Linked DNA regions of Homo sapiens: regions 2 and 3 are each linked to region 1. Evidence: promoter capture Hi-C in 16 types of primary human blood cells and fetal thymus (Javierre and others, 2016). All regions are on one chromosome and are shown on one strand. Each heading gives the region's core, a stretch centred on a gene start or on the middle of the fragment in contact. The rest is flanking DNA. Distances are from core to core; before and after follow the strand shown.

Region 1 (4,344 bases), core at 1,372-3,871:
TAAAACTTGTCAAAACTTTTCCAATGGCTGTTTTCTAATTTCCAGGGTATTTTAAGTCTCTGCTTGGCTCTTGAGGTCTTTCTTAATCTGCTCCCACTCCTATCCATTTATTACGTACCTCACTCCCATCAAGCTGATTTCTTCAAGGTTCACATAAACCCTTTGATCCACCACTGTGCCTAGGTTCATTCTGTCTCTTATCTTCTAGGATATTCTTTTATCCCTCTTCAACTCATAAATCACATTTATCCTTCTCAACACCTAGCTCAAGTCTGATCTCTTATGTGAAGCTTGCTAGTCTACTTTCTCAACTTCCACTGCTGGTCCGCACTCTAACCATATGCTATCTCAATCTTTATTTCACACATGCCATTTTGTTCCAGCCCAATTAAGTCCCTTGAGGAAAGCAACCACATCTTGAGTGTGTTCTATAAACTCAGAGCCAATCACAGTGCAGACTACCTAGAAAGTGCTGGATAAATATGTGATTTATCAACCTATTTATAACTGACTATTGCCTTACTTCAGACTAGCAGTCTCCTCATTCACCTAAGTGTACAGACTATCTTCTCTGAATTTAAGTTTCCTTCCTGTGCCAACTTTCATATGAACATGAATTAAGAATATCAGTCTTACCTCCATTGCCATGTCTGGGTCCTTTTGGGGTTTAATTCCTCTAGGATTTAAAGGGAAAGGGTCTCCGGGGGCATCTATCTGTTTCATCTGGAAATCACCATATCCAACGATATGCAGCAACCTATTGACATTCAGAGTCTGCCCTCGAACATAGCCTGAAATTTTCAAGGTGCCCACCAAGTTATTCTCTTCACTAGGAACAAAATCAACAGCATGGGCAAATAGGTAGGCCCGCCGATCTCGAAAAGCAAGATGCTGTTGCTTCTGGTTAGCCAACTGCCTAAGCAGCATCCCTGCCTCCTGTTGAGTGTCTAACAAGAGGAGTTTGTCATGCGGAAAGCGCTTCTCCACTGCTTTACTTAGCTTCTTCCTGGTATCTATTTGTTTCTTCAGTGGGAGGCCAGAAATCCCCTGGACAGCTAGTGCTGTAAGCGAAAGAGAAAACGCTTCATGACCTACTGCTTCATTACATAAAAATCCCTCTGCAGTTCACAAACAACCTAATAGCTCAGTTGCAAGCCCAGAGATCACTGGGAAGCCCAACACTGAACTACCCTGAAGGAATTTCACAGTGAAATCAAACTTCATATCCTTGTTTCTCTGGGCAAAGGACAGCCAAAAACAAAAAGACACCCTGAGTGATAATCTGTAAACAATGGATCAAGTTTAATCCATATGTGTACATCCCACCACCAGCTGAATATGATCCATCAGTTGTATTCCTGTATCAAATACCAGGCATAGTGCCTGACAAATTAAAGGTGCACAATAAATGCTAACTCACTTACTATAGGTCGGAAGGCCCTGAGCAAAGAGGCAGGAAAGACAGTAATCACCGGTGCTGTCCCAGCCTTCTAGTGGATCAAGGAGGAACAGGATGGTATCAGCTACTTTAGCCATGTCTAACACAACGTGCAGATCCCCTGCAGATAGAAGACACAGTAAGAAGAGGTGGTTGGCACCAGCACATTATTCTAAAAAAAAAAAAAAAAAATACCACTACTCAAACATAATACAAAATATTGGTGTATACTCTAACCTGGCCTTGCTGAGGTGAAAAACCACCGATGTTTCAAGCGGGGGCACAGCAGCATAAAGTTCTGGGTGTTTCCCAATTCATTCAAGTGTACTGTTCCAGTGTCCCTATCTTGAAGCAGCTGCATGGCCTCTGGCAGGGAAATTCTGCTGTGCAGGGGCACCACCAGTACCTGATGAGGAGGGCCATCCTTGCCACCCAGCTGTCTCTTCTCTGCCAGAACCTGAAAATAGAAAGATATCCGAGAACATCTCAGTGTCTCAGTACTTCACTCCAGCATTGCATTTCCACTCCCACAGATGCTCCCCCTACCCAAAACCAGCATCTCTCTAGTAAAAGACCACAGGTATGCCAGCGGGGTGGCAGGAATTCTGACCAAAGCAAAGAATGCTAGACCTGCACGCTCGACACGTGCTCTAGGGCTATGCTCTGTCCCTGGACCCTCCTCCCGGTCTCATTTTCCACTTCGAGGCATTAGCCACCTAGAACACCAGAGAAGCCGCATTCTCCCAAATCCCGCTCCTCTCACCGCCTCCTTCTTCTGCTTTCGGAGCTGGCTGGCGCGATGCCTCTGGTCGACTCTGCTGAGTTCTTTTCTCACCTTCTTGCTTAGGGTTTTCAGTGCCAGACGGCCTGAATGGCAGATTAGAAGGGGCTGGTGTGATCGGCCCCACAAGGTCAAGAAAAGGGACTCCTCTCCGCCCACCTTAGAAAGGGCCTTTCGCGTGGAGCCCAGACGGGAGACAGAAGCTCAGTCTGGGCATGAGGAAAAAGAGTTAATAACGGCCAAATAGCCCTTATTCCTTCTACGTTATCTCCTTACCCTTGCCGTCCCGCTGTGCAGATCCCCGACCCCGATGCCGTCCGCCTTTATGAGCTTTATTCTGCTGCTTGAGCGGGCCGGGGCGGTGGGCCGCCATGCCGCAGCGCGCGTGTACGGAGTCAGCACTGCTTCCGGGCCAGGACAAGCGCTTCCGGTCCCCTCCAAGGGGGCGGGCCCTCCAGGGAGCGGGACTCCCTGCGCCCTCTCGCGAAGGTCTTTTCCAGCAGCTCGTGAGAGCGCCGTGTTAGCGGGTTCGCCAAGCCGCGCTGGGAACTTTTCCCACTTCGCAGTGTGTGGTTGGGGGCTTGAAGGCGCCGGATGTAGACTGTCGAGGCTCGGGCTGTTGGTCTAGCAGGGCTGTTTGTACCCCTTGCATTGTCATTTTTTTGCGCTATAAAGCTGCATCACGTAGAAGCATGTTGACTGGAAGGCTCCATTCGTGCCGAAAAGGCCTAAGCCCTTCCTGTCACCTAGATTCGGGCACGTTGCTCTTCCGTTTGCAACGGCATGTTCTTTATCACTCTGAGCAACCTTTCTTCTCCCTCGATTCCCTAGCGAGGCTTGGGAATCGCGTGGAAGACACTTCTCTCACCTTGCCCGGTTCCGTACCAGCTCAAGCCCGTCCCTGTTACTCCAACCTGCGCCCCGCCTCCCACGGAGCGGCCGGGAAGGACCTTGTGGGACGTGGCGACCCGGCAAGGGGGACTGGCCGCGACCCTCCGGCCGTCGGGCTCGGGCGGCTGCGCTCCCACTAATCTTCCCAGAAACTTGACAACTGCACGGCGACGGCCGGACGGGGATTCAGAGGGGTCACGGGGCCAGGCTGCACCGGCTTCGCCGTGGGCAGGCTCGGACCGCAGGGGACCCCATGCCCGAGCCCCGGCCCTTTCCGTCCCGTCGGGAGAGGGAGCAGGCAGAAGTCAGGGGAGCTTCAGCGGGACCGAGGCTCGCTCTCAGCCGCGGGGCCGCGGGCTCCAGGGCCAGCGCTCACAATGCGGCTTCGCGCCCTCCATGCGGGAGCGGGTGCGTTGCCATGACAGCGACCCCCGTGGCGCGCGCCCGGGTCTGCCGCCCCTAGGCGCGCACGGCCTCTCCCCGCCCCGATCCCCCGTCGCTGTGCGCAACCCCCCTCCGGCTGTGGGAAGGGGCCGGGCCTGCCGCCTGACGTCTGTGCGGGGCTCGGAAGATGGCTGCGGAGCCGAGCACCGGGCAGTGGCTGCGGCGGCGGCGGCGGCGGCGGGCCGGGAGCGCGGCGGGCGGGGGCTCCGCCTTGCGCGTGGGGCGCTGAGCCGAGAGGCGCGGAGGCGGCGAGGGCGCGGGGGCTCTGAGGACCGCTCGGCGCCGCCTCCTGCCACACCATGGGCAGCGCAGAGGACGCAGTCAAAGAGAAACTGCTGTGGAACGTGAAGAAGGAGGTAAAGTCGAGTCAAGAACCCCGGGGGGCTCGCGCCCTGGCCCGCGCGGCCCAGGGGGCAGAAAGGTCCGCGCCCACCCCCCGGCGCGGGCACCCGGGCCGAACCTGGGCCGGGCGGGGCGGGTCCTGGACGGGCTGCGCCTCCTTCCCCTTTCTCGGATGGGGGAGGGCAGCGCCCCTCTGCCCGGGGGACCCGGCCGGCGCTCCCGGCTTGTTTGCTTCGCAGCCCCGCAGCTCCCCGCCCAGTGACGGCAGCGGCGCTGGGAGCCCAAGGCCGGGGGAGGGGTGGCGGCGATGGCGGGGATGGCTGGATCCGGAGCTGCCCATTCAGTGCCCGCGCCGCCAGGGGAGGGGGCGGGGCCCCGCGCGAGCTCCCGCGGCGCAGGTGGGTGTCGTGCGGGCCGAGCTTCCCCACGTCCTAAGTGGGTGTCGTGC
Region 2 (4,344 bases), core at 1,799-4,298, 680 kb before region 1:
GTCAAAGTGGATGTTTCAAGAATATGCGTTGCTGGGCCGGGCACGGTGGCTCAAGCCTGTAATCCCAGCACTTTGAGAGGCCAAGGCGGGCGGATCACGAGGTCAGGAGATTGAGACCATCCTGGCCAACATGGTGAAACCCCGTCTCTACTAAAAATACAAAAAATTTAGCCGGGCGTGGTGGCGGGCACCTGTAGTCCCAGCTACTCGGGAGGCTGAGGCAGGAGAATGGCGTGAACCTGGGAGGCGGAGCTTGCAGTGAGCTGAAATCAGGCCACTGCATTCCAGCCTGGGCAACAGAGCAAGACTCCGTCTCAAAAAAAAAAAAAAAAAAAGAGAATATGCATTGCTGGCCAGGAGCAGTGGCTCACACCTGTAATCCGAGCACTTTGGGAGGCAGAGGCAGAGGCAGGCAGATCACAAAGTCAGGAGATCGAGACCATCCTGGCTAACACGTTGAAACCCTGTCTCTACTAAAAAATACAAAAAAAATTAGCCAGGCGTGGTGGCGGGCGCCTGTAGTCCCAGCTACTCGGGAGGCTAAGGCAGGAGAATGGCGTGAACCCGGGAGGCGGAGCTTGCAGTGAACCGAGATTGAGCCACTGTGCTCCAGCCTGGGCCACACAGCGAGACTCCGGCTAAAAAAAAAAAAAAAAAAAAAGAGTATGCGTTGCCTTTGGAAAAATGATTTTTGATAGCCCTGTTCAAGGTTAGAAATTCAGGAAACAGACCAGCTGGAAGGGAACGAAGCACCTCATACACTCTTGGACCTCCCACAGAATACTTCCCAAGGTATTTTGGGGATAAGTTCAAATGAGATGTTCTCAGCCTTTCATCTAATAAACCAGTAAATATTACCAAGTCCACCCCAAGAATAAGAGGCAACATGGTTCTACAGCCTCTTCATCTTTAAACCTGCTCACCTGCCCCAAACGCTTCTGTCCCGCCCACACGGACGTGTGGATTATCTTGAGGAACAGCTGCCCTGTGCGTGGGTTGAAGATGAAGATGGCTCCGTTGATGGGCTTGGTTGTCAAGTTCCCTTCAAAGGTCTAGAGGAGGACGGCATTCGTTAGCATGGCCTACACAACACATCCCCATCCTGCCTTCTTCCCAGCATGTGTACACACTTAGCCCATTACTCTCCCACAGCCATGTACAGAGTCCCGCACCTATACACTGCTGCTAACACTCACCTTGTGAATAGTCACTCTGTAGACGTTGGTGTCATCCACAAACCAGATAATCTGGTTGGAGAAGAGCTCACCATAGTTCTGAGAAGACAAATAAGGCTCAGTGGGTTCAGATGAATAGAGCTGTAGCCCCTTGCGGATCCGTTCACGTAACACATACAGGGCAGGGTTTGCCTTCATGATCTTGGCCATGGCCTGTTGTATGAGAGGCTTGCTGCCTGGGAACCAGTTTCCATAGGCACTGTGAGGATAAAAGGGTCAAGAAAAGTTAAGACGAGAATGACAGCCCCAGAAACAAGACAAGCTGCCAACTCTACAGAGGAAGAAAGACTGTTCGCCAGGCTGACAACACTCTGCTCATGTGTACATACAGGCTGGAGAAGAGAATCAGTGACCCATAGGAGGAATGGGCCACTTCCTCTCACTTAGGTAAAGTAAAAAAGTATGACTACGTTAAAGTATGGAGCTAATGGAAAATACACGGATTATTTATTTATTTATTATTATTATTATTTTTCTTTGAGATGGAGTCTCACTCTGTCGCCCAGGCTGGAGTGCAGTGGCGCAATCTCGGTTCACTGCAAGCTCCGCCTCCCGGGTTCAAGTAATTCTCCCACCTCAACCTTCTGAGTAGCTGGGACTACAGGCGTGGACCACCACGCCCAGCTAATTTTTTGTATTTTGGTAGAGACAGGGTTTCACCATGTTGCCCAGACTGGTCTCAAACTCCTGAGCTCAGACAATCTGCCCACCGCGGCCTCCCAAAGTGCTGGGATTACAGGTGTGAGCCACTGCGCCTGGCCTGAAAATACATGGTCCTGAGCCTCAACTCACCTGTGCAAGTTATAGGCCAGGTCAATGGCGATGAGTACACCTGTGGGCGAAGGGTAGATACTCATGTTGTCGGTGGTGTAGTCCAGGAACTTGGCCCGGGCGTAGCGCTCAATGTCGTGGGAATCATAGTCCCCCCAGCGCAACTGGATGTCAATCCAGTATTTCTGGGTGGTGGTGCTGTCCATCACATCCCTGAGGATGAAGAGGGTTCAAGCTTCTAAGAAACCATGGGCATAACCAATGTCCCCAGAACCAGAACCACTTAAATCCCAAAACCATCCCACCCACTCCACCAACTTGTTCCAGGTCAGCAGGACCCCAGAGAATCAGCAGATCTGACTAAGGGTGTTGACAGGCTCCAAGCGTAGCACTGGCTCCAAGTTTGAAACAAAGGCAGACAGGACAATTCCTAAAGTTGCAGGGCTAGAAGAACAGGAAAACGAAAGTGTCCTGGCTGCCTAGGGCTGGGTCCTGAGGCACTTACTTGGAGTCAGCCAGCAATGAGGGCCGGGAGACATTCCACTTATAGGAGGCAAAGAGCAGGATATCTGCACAGGAAGAGTTCATCTTATATGACTTTCGGGGATGGATTGTCTCCTTTTGTACTGTCTCAATTTCCAGTGCATCAAGTTCCTGGTCAAACACCTGAAGGAAAACATGGAGAGATTAAGACTTGTTAAGGAAGCCCAATTAAAATCAGAGTTTGTACAATAAGATAATGAGGCAATAGGAGTCTCATCCTCAGAGCTTCCAGGGTGGATTTCCCATATGCAAAAGAGCAAGCTGAGCTGACTCTGTACAGCACGCTCTCCCCGCGATTCCACCTGAGCTGACTCTGTACAGCACCCTCTCCCCGCGATTCCACCTAAGCTGACTCTGTACAGCACCCTCTCCCTGCGATTCCACCTGAGCTGACTCTCTACAGTACCCTCTCCCCACGATTCCACCTGAGCTGACTCTGTACAGTACCCTCTCCCCTCGATTCCACCTGAGCTGACTCTGTACAGTACCCTCTCCCCTCAATTCCACCTGAGCTGACTCTCTACAGTACCCTCTCCCCTCGATTCCAGCCCACCTGACATAAGTCCATAACAATGCTCTCATGGATCTTCTGCCACAAGTGAGCTCGGAAGATCTGGATGAGAGAGATCTTCAGCGTGGGGATCTTGCCGTGCATGAAGATACCCGTCAGGTCTAGCTGCACCTGAAAGCCTACATATACCTGCCAGGAAAACGACAATGTGACATTAGAGATCAAGAGACTCGGGCGCTCACGACATAACCAAGGCAAGAAGCAGCAACTGTCTTTAGCTTCCCCTCTCCAGTGTCAATCACACTCACATTGGCTCGATTAATGGTCGGGGACCACCAGAGGGTGAATCTACGATTGGGAATCTGGTTCAGTCCTGATCGCTGAGCATTAGTTAGCTTCTTCCACTTCATAGATTCCTCAAAGCCACTGGCCTTCTCCCTGGGGAGCAAGAGAAGCAGGTGAGGTGATATCCTGCCATTTCCCAGCACACTGCTAACCTCCTGGAGGTGGCTGTCTGGGAAACACCACAGGAAATCACAGAGGCATACAAGAGATGAGCTCAAAGGGTTGTGACAGGTCCCTCTAAGAGAGGAGAATCCTCACCAGAAAAGCCCCTCCCAGGTAGGGAAGTAAGTGCCCTTAAAGAGTGTGTGTTCCAGAATGCCTTCCACACCGCCCAGGGCCTGGATCATGTCTGTACGGTAGTTGTTCAGGTTCCAGAGCTTCCCATCATGCCGCTGGTGTGTCCACCAGAACGGATTCTGCTTCAAAACCTAGATGGCAAGGCAGGCACGGTCAAGCTTCTGGGTGCCTATTGCCCCAAGTTTCGGGGATAGCCATGGATTTTCCTGACTCAGGGAAAATCTGCTCCCTCTACATACCTGATACTGCTTAAAGTCAGTTCTGACACGCCAGCCCTTATCATAAGCCAGTGTGTGCCGGTCCTTCTGGAAGAGGGTATTGATTCGAGGAATGCCACGATCCCATGAATCTTCTAGGTCTTCTAAAGTCAGGCGTCTTCCAAAAAAAGAAAGATTCAAGTCAAAACGTGATCTCATATGAGGAGCTCAGCACTCCTTCCTGGCCAAAAATAATTAGGGTCAGTAGAACCAGCCTTCTCACCTCCATACAACCATGGCATGCTCTGACCCTGAACTCCACACGGTTCAAAGGCCACCACTGCCCCTGCCCCAGGGTTGGCATGCCCTCCTAGGTGCCCACCTGTTCTGAGCAATGGCCTCTTGCCTCTTGAGTGCGTACTCAGCCCAGACCCGCTGAGAATCA
Region 3 (4,344 bases), core at 1,098-3,597, 650 kb before region 1:
CTCTAAATCAACGGCTATCCCTCTGGAGACAGCTTTGCGGCTCTCTCACATCCTATTCCCTCCGCATCTTCCCATAAATCATAATAAAGTATTCACCATACTTCACTATCACCAGTTGTCTCATGTCTGTCAGGCCACTAGACCGCACACTGCAGAAAGGCGGAGATTGTTACCCTCTGCTCGCTACTATATCCCCAGCAGCCAGCACAGTTCTCTAAGTATTTTTTGAAATAAACAAAACTTCCAGTTCATTACATGGCAAACATTTTTGTGTCCAAATAGAACAGGAATCTGCTAAGACATCTGTACCTGTACTAGCCCAGTTTAGAGCCACAGAAAAAACAGGAGTAGGGAAACCTCTGAAATTAAATACCCCAAACACAGAATTCAGGTCCCTGAGGAGCGACAGGCTGCCACTATGCACAGTATCCCACTCTGGACTTCAACCAGCTCAACCATAGGGACATCTTATTTTTCATTTTTTTTTTTTTTTTGAGACGGAGTCTCGTACTTTCGCCCAGGCCAGAGTGCAGTGGTGTGATCTCGGCTCACTACAAGTTCCGCCTCCCAGGTTCACGCCATTCTCCTGCCTCAGCCTCCCAAGTAGCTGGGACTACAGACACCTGCCACCACGCCCAGCTAATTTTGTGTATTTTTAGTAGAGACGGGGTTTCACCGTGTTAGCCAGGATGGTCTCGATCTCCTGACCTCATGATCCACCCGCCTCGGCCTCCCAAAGTGCTGGGATTACAGGCATGAGCCACCGCGCCTGGCCAGGGACATCTTATAATATCATCAACAGGACAAATTAAAGCACCAGTCCCAGATCGGGAAGAGAGGGGAAACAGACTGCAAAAGTGGAAGATGTAGAAATTATCAGAGACTCCTACTGGTTTTCTCCTTTCTCTTATATCCACCAAGATGAGCTGTCAAAGCATCAATCCAAGACTGTGGGACAGGGAGAAGGGAAAAGGGCCAAATTCCAAATGAAATTATTTCAGGATGTTCCTTACCCCAAGTAAACCCTTTTGTCATGGCGGAACTTCCTGTTGGTCATGTCTCCATGGTCTCGAATGATCTTCCTGACATGTTCTGGGGGCATGTCTTCCTTCTGGGCATCCACAAACCCAAACTTCCGCTTTTCTGCATAGCGCTTGGCCTGCAATTGCTGCCATTTTCGAGCTGGAAAGGCACCTCAGTTTAAAGGCCTGCACACCCTCCCCCTAATCCTCTTCACCTCTTGCCCTAGGGTAAGCTCCTGTCAGTGAGTGTGAGGGAGAAGCAGGCACCAGCAGGAAGAAGCACCCCTTGCCAATTCCCTTACCATTTTACTCTGTTTTTCCTTTCATCACATTGATCACTATCTGACTTTTTTTTTTTTTTTTGAGAGGTTGTTTCACTCTGTCTCCCAGGCTGGAGTGCAATGGTGCGATGTCGGCTCACTGCAACCTCCGCCTCCTGGGTTCAAGCCATTCTCCTGCCTCAGCCTCCCCAGTAGCTGGGATTATAGACACGCGCCACCACACACGACTCATTTTTGTATTTTTCGTAGAGACGAGGTTTCACTGTGTTGGCCAGGCTGGTCTCGAACTCCTGACCTCAGGTGATCCGCCCGCCTGGGCCTCCCAAAGTGCTGGGATTACAACCGTGAGCCACCGCGCCCGGCCTGACATTTTTATTACAGAGCTTCAAGGTTTTGTTATTCTCTGTCTCTCCCGCTGTAATTTAAACCCCGTAAGGACAGGAATTTTGTCTCCGTCACTACTGTACCCCCGCTGGATCAGCGCTTGCAAATAATACGCGCTTAAAATGACTTGATGAAAAATTAACTGGAAATAACAAGGGAGCTGACACCTCAGGAGCTGCCCAAACGGGGAGGGTCCCCACCCGCCTGCGCGCGCGCACACCCGCCCCGCCTCCGGCCCGCGCGCCGCTCCACACTCTCGCCTCACCTTTCTCCTGCAGCTTCTCCTCCGACATGTAGTCCGGTAGCGGGGCTAGAGGGCCAGGCACCGGGTTACCCGGCCCTCGATAAGGAAACACTCCGGCCATATCCGGAGAATCTGGGGAGCGGCGGGATAGAAAAATTCACTAACCACAGGCCCGGGCCCACAAGAAGCGCAGCAGAAAGGCGTCCGGGGACCCCGGCCTGCAGTCCCGCCACACAGTGCATCCAGCCCCGCCCGGCCTAACCCCTTCGGTCACTCGGCCCGACCCGACCACGCCTCCCGCAGCCCGGCCTTAAACGCCTGCCACGCACCCCACAGGCCCTCACACAAGAGGCCGCTTTCCCCGCAGCGCAATGGCGGCCAGACTGCGTCCGCTCCGCGTTCCCAGCGCCGGGAAGTGCGCAACCCGAGTTCAGCAGTTGATCCAGTCGGCGCCGAGGTGCTCAGATGGATTAGTGAGACGACCAATTAGAGTTGCACACTGCGCCGAGGAGGCGGGCCCATAGGCGGAAAGGCTTTGAACGCAAGGGGGTGTGGTCGGGGTGAAGCCCCGCCTCCTCCATTTCCGAGGCTGTTTCTGGGGCCTCTGACAGACCTCAGCGTGTGATGGGCTCCCGGCGTCGCACTGTGAGAGAGCGAAGTCTAAAGGGTTTGAATAAATTTGCCAAGATTGCGCATTGTACGATGTCTGTTGTCATCAATGTGTACATGCAATGCAGTACTAGCTCCTGGACAGTCATTTGTTCATGCATTCATTCATTTAACCATCACTGTCTACCGAGGACGAGGGATAAAGCAGGAAAAAAGACAACCAGTAGAGTTCACAGGGGAGCAGAAAGGCAGGCAAGAATTAAGACCTTGGCCGGGCGCGGTGGCTCACGCCTGGAATCGCAGCACTTTGGGAGGCCGAGGCAGGCGGATCACTTAAAGCCAGAAGTTCGAGGCCAGCCTGGCCAACATGGTGAAACCCCGTCTCTACTAAAAATACAAACATTAGCCGGGCGTGGTGGCGGGCGCCTGTAGTCCCAGCTACTCGGGAGGCTGAGGCAGGAGAATCGCTTGACCCGGGAGGGGGAGGTTGCAGTGAGCCAAGATCGCGCCACTGCACTCCAGCCTGGGTGACAGAGCGAGACTCTGTCTCGGGGGAAAAAAAAAAGTCTGAAATTCTGTGGAGGGTGCAGAGGAATTGTAACCCATACAGCCCCTGAATCTAGTTGAGAATTTACAAATCAAAGTGAAATAATTAGAAAAAAATTCAAAGGATGTCAATGTGCTTTCAGAACGGTAAAAATTTAAAAAATATTCCTTTTGTTTTTTTGAGACAGGGTCTCACTCTGTTGCCCAGACTGGAGTGCAATGGCGCGATCTCAATTCATCACAACCTCCACCTCCCAGGATCAAGCAATTCTCCTGCCTCAGTCTCCAGAGTAGCTGGATTACAGGCACGCGCCACTACTGCCGGCTAAGTTTTGGATTTTTAGTAGAGACAGGGTTTCACTATGTTGGCCAGGCTGGTCTCAAACTCCTGACCTTACGAAATCCTCCTGCCTCGGCCCTCCCAAAGTGCTGGGATTACAGGCGTGAGCCCCCATGCCCGGCCTGAAATCTATTTTTTAATGCTGGGTGTTCTAAAGGTCCCTACAGTCAAAAAAGACAGAGGAGAATTGTTAAAGATTTGATGGAGATGGATGGATGTGAGGATTTCATAAAGGTAAATGGAGAGGAAGGAAAAAGGTAATCCCAAGTGGTAGAACTACTAGAAAGAGTTAAGAAAGAAGCCGGGCACCGTGACTCATACCTGTAATCCTAGCACGTTGGGAGGCAGCGGCGAGAGGATTGGTTAAACTCATGAGTTTAAGACTAGCCTGGGCAACATACTGAGACCCTCATCTCTACAAATAATAAAAATATTAACCAGGCATAGTGGTACATGCCTGTAGTCCCAGCTACTCGGGAGGCTGAGGTGGGAGGATCATGATGGCACCACTGCACTCCAGCCTGGGTGACAGAGCGAGGCTGGTTTCATAGAAAAAAAGTGGGGGTTTTGGTTTGTTTTTTGTTTTTTGAGGCAGAGTCTCACTCTGTTGCCAGGCTGGAGTGCAGTGTCACAATCTCGGCTCACTGCAACCTCTGCCTCCAGGATTCAAGCGATTCTCCTGCCTCAGCCTCCTGAGTAGCTGGGGTTACAGGCATGTGCCACCACACCCGGCTAATTTTGTATTTTTCGTAGAGATGGCGTTTCTCCATGTTTGTCAGGCTGGTCTCGAACTACTGAGCTCAAGTAATCTGCCTACCTCAGCCTCGCAAATTGCTGGGATTTCAGGCGTGAGCCACCGTGCCAGGCCAAAAAAGGTTTAGATATAGAAACTAACATGGCATGCTCTGAAAATAGGCA

The links. The method cuts DNA at HindIII sites, captures the fragments that hold promoters and counts their contacts. A CHiCAGO score of 5 or more calls a contact.
Region 2: a fragment that was not itself captured here is called in contact with the fragment with the promoter of TSR1 in region 1 in 1 of 17 cell types (fetal thymus); the score reaches 5.1 in fetal thymus.
Region 3: the fragment with the promoter of PRPF8 here is called in contact with the fragment with the promoter of TSR1 in region 1 in 13 of 17 cell types (total CD4 T cells, fetal thymus, naive CD8 T cells and 10 more); the score reaches 14.0 in total CD4 T cells.

The regions. Positions count from the first base shown.
Region 1 is chr17:2,333,836-2,338,179 of GRCh38, forward strand. TSR1 (TSR1 ribosome maturation factor) reads right to left here and starts at 2,622. Exons shown (of 15, transcript NM_018128.5): 1 at 2,496-2,622; 2 at 2,202-2,305; 3 at 1,676-1,895; 4 at 1,425-1,559; 5 at 637-1,061. The coding sequence starts at 2,592. SGSM2 (small G protein signaling modulator 2) reads left to right here and starts at 3,666. Exons shown (of 24, transcript NM_014853.3): 1 at 3,666-3,910. The coding sequence starts at 3,854. RefSeq lists an enhancer at 2,790-2,899 and silencers at 3,130-3,259, 3,290-3,599, 3,700-3,809, 3,910-4,009, 4,040-4,344. The HindIII fragment of the contact is 5,731 bases long and covers 289-4,344 here.
Region 2 is chr17:1,657,330-1,661,673 of GRCh38, forward strand. It overlaps PRPF8 (pre-mRNA processing factor 8), which reads right to left. Exons shown (of 43, transcript NM_006445.4): 26 at 4,282-4,344; 27 at 3,942-4,077; 28 at 3,664-3,833; 29 at 3,369-3,498; 30 at 3,103-3,249; 31 at 2,512-2,672; 32 at 2,028-2,219; 33 at 1,197-1,434; 34 at 924-1,052. Among named protein-coding and RNA genes, the nearest start is that of RILP, 9.6 kb to the left of the region's middle. The HindIII fragment of the contact is 1,619 bases long and covers 2,240-3,858 here.
Region 3 is chr17:1,682,520-1,686,863 of GRCh38, forward strand. PRPF8 (pre-mRNA processing factor 8) reads right to left here and starts at 2,348. Exons shown (of 43, transcript NM_006445.4): 1 at 2,261-2,348; 2 at 1,953-2,063; 3 at 1,014-1,182. The coding sequence starts at 2,052. The HindIII fragment of the contact is 11,873 bases long and covers 1-4,344 here.